2 separate regions of the Homo sapiens genome follow, and region 2 is linked to region 1. Evidence: promoter capture Hi-C in 16 types of primary human blood cells and fetal thymus (Javierre and others, 2016). All regions are on one chromosome and are shown on one strand. The core of a region is centred on a gene start or on the middle of the fragment in contact, and the rest is flanking DNA. Distances in the headings are between cores, read along the strand shown. Region 1 holds the start of B3GALT2 (beta-1,3-galactosyltransferase 2). Region 2 overlaps LOC124904475 (a long non-coding RNA gene).

Region 1 (2,953 bases), core at 87-2,586:
TGGGTGGATATAGACTACAAGGAAGTTGGGTTTTAGTCCTCTCCTTCAAACTTAACTAGGAAAAGTCAAAGCTCAGTCTAGGCTTTAGGTTTCCTATTTATAAAATTCTTTTTTTTCTTTAACGATCCTTCTAACATTTCTAATACAGTGGGGTTCTTAAAACTACAAAGCACATTTCATCAGCAAAGCTCAAAAATATGTGGACAAAATTTTTTTTAATATCAGAGAAAACAAATTCATATTCATTTGAAATAGCATATATTAATGGTGGAGGCAGTGAGATGAAGAATATGTATATAACTGTTAACCTTTAGCTTAAGCTCCAAAACTATAACTTTCTAGGACTGAATTACTGTCCCTAGAGTCACAGAGGAAAAACTGATAATAAAGGCTTTTTACTACAACAAAAAATTTAAAAAAACCTTCCCTACTGCTCTGCAGTAAGAAAAGAAGGTGCCAGCCCCAGAAACTAACCATATTAGAAAAATCTCAGTGAGTGTGTAGTGTTAATAAAATCTGCCTCATGGCAAGTTATTAAATCTTTCTGAAACATTAGAATAAGTAAACATAATTAGTAAAATCTCATTACCCCCAGATCCTGTACAAGTGTGCTATATCTATTACATCATTTTACTGAATTCTACGATACATGTAATTTTAAAGGGAAGGAAAAATAAATAAAAAATAAATGACAACATTAAAAAGTGATTTAAAATAAAGTTTTCTGCCATCAAGAACACCAAAAACCACATAAGAGCAAAAAAGAAGTGGGCTGTATCACATCATGCATTAGTAAAGTAATCCAAGACAGCTTATTTATACAAACCCCAGAAAACGGGGGGGGGGATCTAAATTACAAAGATACATGGTTTCAATAGAAACCATAGGTCTTAACTACATATTAGTAAAAAATCAAGAGCAATTTGAAAGCAGAGAAAAAAAACTTCAAGAAGAGAATGCACTGAAGGGGTTAAATTACACCAACTTACACACAAAAGCTTATACTGCTTACACCCTACAAAAGCATGTAAGAAACATGAAAACCAACATCTAACACAGAAAACACTTAGAAAGCCTGTACTTAAGAATAAAGTTAAAAAAGGAAGTAAGCTGGAAAAAATAAAATCATAACCATTTCATAATCATCACATTTTCAAATTATTCACTCATCACTACACTTGCATTCAACATATATAATTTATCACATAAAAGCAAAATCTCTAAGCTTCTCCCTACCTTAGGTTTTTAGTCAAAATGAATGCAAACAATCACGTGGGATTCAGCCAAGCAGTGACGTTAAATTCTGCTCTGTCAGAGAGAGCATCTGTCAAGCCCACATTTAAACTGCTGCCTGCCTGTGCAGCAGCTGAGGAACCGTGGATTTCATATTATAGACTAAAACCCCATTAAAACTGCTCAAAATCCTTCCTGCAGCTGCCAGGCAACAACGAAAGAAGAGAGGTAAATCCTATTCTTTTCCAATACAACTGAAGCACTACATTTTAGCTCTGGCTGCTTTACATTGCAGCTCAGTGTTATTAGTAGAAATATGGATACTGAGACGAGAACACAGCACTGCATTGTCCAGCCAGGAAAATAGCAGATGTAAAAAGCTTCAATGCATCAACTGTCGGGAAGAGTCAACAGTGCTACAAGCAGAACGGGCAACTACAGCTCTTTTGTTTAACGAAAGAGAGAAAATGAAAGAAAGGGAAAATTTCAGAAGACTAGGACCCATATGAACAAGGAGGGTAACTCGAAGACAAGCAGACAGATGGACACTTTGGATACTGTGAAAAGCAATCGCAGGAGGCAGACTGTTGGGGGATGTGCGCATGTTCGATAGCATCTTTTTTGCTGAAGTGATGGCGTGCCAAAAGTATTTTCAGTGGGCATAATCCTCTTCACATAAATGGCCTGACCAAGGAAGGTATGTCAATATCTTGTGTATGATAGTCATTTAAATGTGTTACCTTTTTATAGCCCTGGAGGCACTAATACCTGATAAGCAAGTTCATACAGCTCACTGCCCTTGAAACTATGAAAAGGTTTCTTAATATCTGATTTTAAAATTTGTCATTGTTTAGAAGACAAGCTGTCACTGCTTTATGCAGCTAAATATGTAGCTTGGAGTAATTCTGGGTAATAGACATCAGAGGGAAAAGGCAAATAAGAAGAAGATGTGTTTAAAGGATTCCTTAAGAAATTAAACTTAAAAAAAAATCTGTAGCCCTTTACAAAAAACACAGCAATATTCTATCAAATTAGGTCAAACTGAATCCTTATCTAGTAAATTAAATGCTCTCTTAAAAATGGCTATCAAAAGACACAATGCAGTGAAATTTCATTAAATAGTAGCAAGGAAAACCTTAAGAGTTTTTTTTTCAAAGTCCTTTTAAAACAAAACCTTAATATGTAACAGCTTTTAGTAACAAAATCTTCCCCAACATCTCCCTAAATGAAGATAATGAACACAACCAAAGAGAGTATCAACAAATTTTAAATATTACCAAGCTACAAGAAGATACTAAAAGGAAAGCATTAACATAAGATCACATAAGGTAGTGTGAGTTTATGCATAACCCCACAATAGAGCCTCGTGTTATTATAGTGACCATGAATAGAACTTTAAACAAAGGGACATCAATAGTGGCTTTAAAAATTAACTATTTTAAATAGCTTACATTTTATGTAAAAGACTGATTCCAAATGATCAAATTTAACGTTGTCTCTGATTATCATTTCAGAAGTGAAATTCAAAAACATAATATGGAAATACTTTGATACAAAAATATCCACAAATGGCAATACAAGGTCAAAAAATTAAATATAAATGTAGCTACTATGCTTCCAGGCTATATTAATATGCAGTAATGAACTACCGCCACTATATGTGTGTGCAGGGCACAGATAAACCAAATAAACTATTTTAGCAACAATCATAGAACAGCAA
Region 2 (2,789 bases), core at 59-2,558, 570 kb before region 1:
TGCTGAAATTTTCAATTATCATTGTAAATTTGTCTTATTTCTTCTTTCAGTTCTATTGGGTTTTATTTAGAATTACTACTGTTTCTATATCATTTTGTAGCTCTGTTATTAGGTAAATACTCACTTAAGACTTTATGTCTTCTTGATAAAGTGACCCTTTCATCATTATGAAACCTCTTTTTATTCCTGGTGAGATCATTGTAATATCAACATGATACATATTTTTCTATCTTTTAAAATTTCCACTTATCTGTTTTTATATTTAAATTGCATATTTTTCAGTAGTAAGTAGTTAGAGCTTGTCTTTATTCTGACAGTCTCTGACTTTGAACTGAAATATCTAGGGCAGTTTTTCACAAGGTGGTGCCAAAGCTGAAGAAGGCAGCTCCTGCCCCTCCCAAAGCTCAGGCCGAAGCGAAGCCTTTGAAAGCCGAAAAGGCAGTACTCAAAGATATCCACAGCCACACAGAAAAAGATATGCACATCACCTACCTTCCAGTGGCCCAAGACACTATGGCTTGGGAGGAACCCTAAATATCCTTGGAAGAGTGCCCCCAGGAGAAACAAGCTTGACCACTATGCCATTACCAAGTCCCCCTGACCACTGAATTAGCTATGAAGAAGAAAGAAGACAACACACTTGTGTTCATTATGAATGATAAAGCCAACAAGCACCAGATCAAACAAGCTGTGAAGAAGTTCTATGACATTAATGTAGCCAAGGTCAACATGCTAATCAGCCTGAGGGAGAGAAGGCTTCTGTTCAACTGGTTCCTTACAATGCTTTGAATGTTGTGAACAAAATTGGGATCATGAATTTTATATAATATATATATTATATAAATATATTATATAAATTTTAATATATATTTATATTAAATATATATTTATATTTAATATAAATATATATTATATATAGTATATATAGTATAGACCATGGGAAAATTAATAATTTATATATAATATGTAATATTTACAGGCAATTTATTTCATGTAATTATTAAATAGTTGAAATCTACATCTTCTGTTTCTATTTGTCATATGTGGTTTTTTCCTTCCCTCTCCCATTTTCCTGCCACCTTCTGAATTGTCCTATAGCATTCAATTTTACTTCCACCAAAAGCTTATTCATCTTTTAATTATTTTCAGTTGTTCTAAAGTCACCGTATGCAACTGATCACATTCTACCTTGAAAGAATATACCACTTCTCATATACTGTAAGACAGAATACTTCAATTTTGCTTCTTTTATCCTTTGTGATACTGTTACCACAGTCTTTACTTTTATAAATGTTACACTGTTGTTTTTACTTCAACTATTCAATTATCTTTTAAAGGATTTTAATTGAATATTTCCAGTGCTTTTTATTCTTTTGCGTAAATCTAAGTGTCCACCTGGTATCATTTGTCTTCAACCTGAGGTCCCTTTAATGTTATTTCAAGTATACTTCTGCTAAAAATGAATTTTCTCAGATTTTGTGTACAAAAGCTTTTGACTTCTTATTGAATAGTATTTCCATGAGATATAGAATTCTAGAATAATATATTTTTTCTTTCTATGAAGATATGATTACATTGTTTTTTAACTTGCAGTTTTTCTGAAGTGCAGTCTGCATTTTTTTAAAATCTTGGTTCCGTAATTTTTTTTTTTTTACTTCTAACTACTTTAAAAATTTTTCCTTCTGCTTACTGATTTCTAGCACTTTGAGTAGGATGAACCTTAGTATAATTTTCTTAGTGTTTGTGCTGCTTGAGATTCTTTGGGAAGCTCAGATTTAGGGGCGTATAATTCTCACAAATTTAGGAAAATGTTGGCCACTATTTCTTTAAATATGTTTTTCTGTCTCTTCTCTCTCCTCTCTCGGGCAATCTAATCACATACATGTAAGACTGCTTGATATTGTAACACAGACTACTCGGCTTCTGTTTATTTTTTCAATTTTTCCCCCTCTGTGCTTGAGTTTAGATAGTTCCTATTGCTGTGTTTTCAAGTTCATCAATCCTTTCTTCTGCAGTTTCTAATCAGCTGCTATTTTCAAACACTGCCTTTTTAAAAATTTTTAACTATTGCATTTAAGTTTGTTTTAAAGTTACAGATTGATAATTCCATCAACTCTGTTATTACTAGATCTGTTTACTGTAATAGATTTTTCTTAATTATGAATCACATTTTATAGCAATTACTCATATCTGTAAATTTTTATTGGAAGCTGTACATTATGAATAGTAAGACAGGATATTTTTGTCTCTTTTGAAGGTGTTAAAGTTCATTTTTTCAGGCAGTTAAGTGTTGATAGAAAAAAAATTCTGCATGGAAAATGTTCTGGTACAGTATTCCCAAATGGTTGCAAACATATTAAATTTAACTGTTGGTTCTGCTATCCCCCACCAGATGGCTCTACCAAATTTAATGCTATTCCCTCTAACCTTACCAAGAAATTTACAGGAGACAGCAAGGGATGGCCAAACATCCTGTATCTCCTACACAAATTACCTGCTAACACCTCCAGATGTTTTCCCTATCCTCATTTTGATGGCCTTAGATCAGCCTTCATACATTTTTTGTCATATTCTGGCTAATAATCAGAATTAAATATAAAATAGACCCAATTCAAAAATCATAATGCATCTTTGTTATTTCTAACAGCTACCCCAGTTGACCTCATTGGAACATCCTCCTAGTGGCAGCCCAGCCAAAAGGGAGCTTATAAGATTTAAACTTAATTCTAGTTCAGCCACCTGGATTTTCTTGCTGGATGGTACTAGAACCTAAGGATAATGTCCACTTG

The links. Contacts are between HindIII fragments. The CHiCAGO score rates a contact against its expected background, and 5 or more counts as called.
Region 2: a fragment that was not itself captured here is called in contact with the fragment with the promoter of B3GALT2 in region 1 in 1 of 17 cell types (total B cells); the score reaches 5.1 in total B cells.

The regions. Positions count from the first base shown.
Region 1 is chr1:193,184,996-193,187,948 of GRCh38, reverse strand. B3GALT2 (beta-1,3-galactosyltransferase 2) reads left to right here and starts at 1,336. Exons shown (of 2, transcript NM_003783.3): 1 at 1,336-1,930. The region is part of intron 10 of CDC73 (cell division cycle 73); the gene reads right to left. The HindIII fragment of the contact is 388 bases long and covers 1,228-1,615 here.
Region 2 is chr1:193,754,839-193,757,627 of GRCh38, reverse strand. The region is part of intron 3 of LOC124904475 (a long non-coding RNA gene); the gene reads right to left. It also overlaps the pseudogene RPL23AP22. Among named protein-coding and RNA genes, the nearest start is that of LINC01031, 450 kb to the right of the region's middle. The HindIII fragment of the contact is 366 bases long and covers 1,126-1,491 here.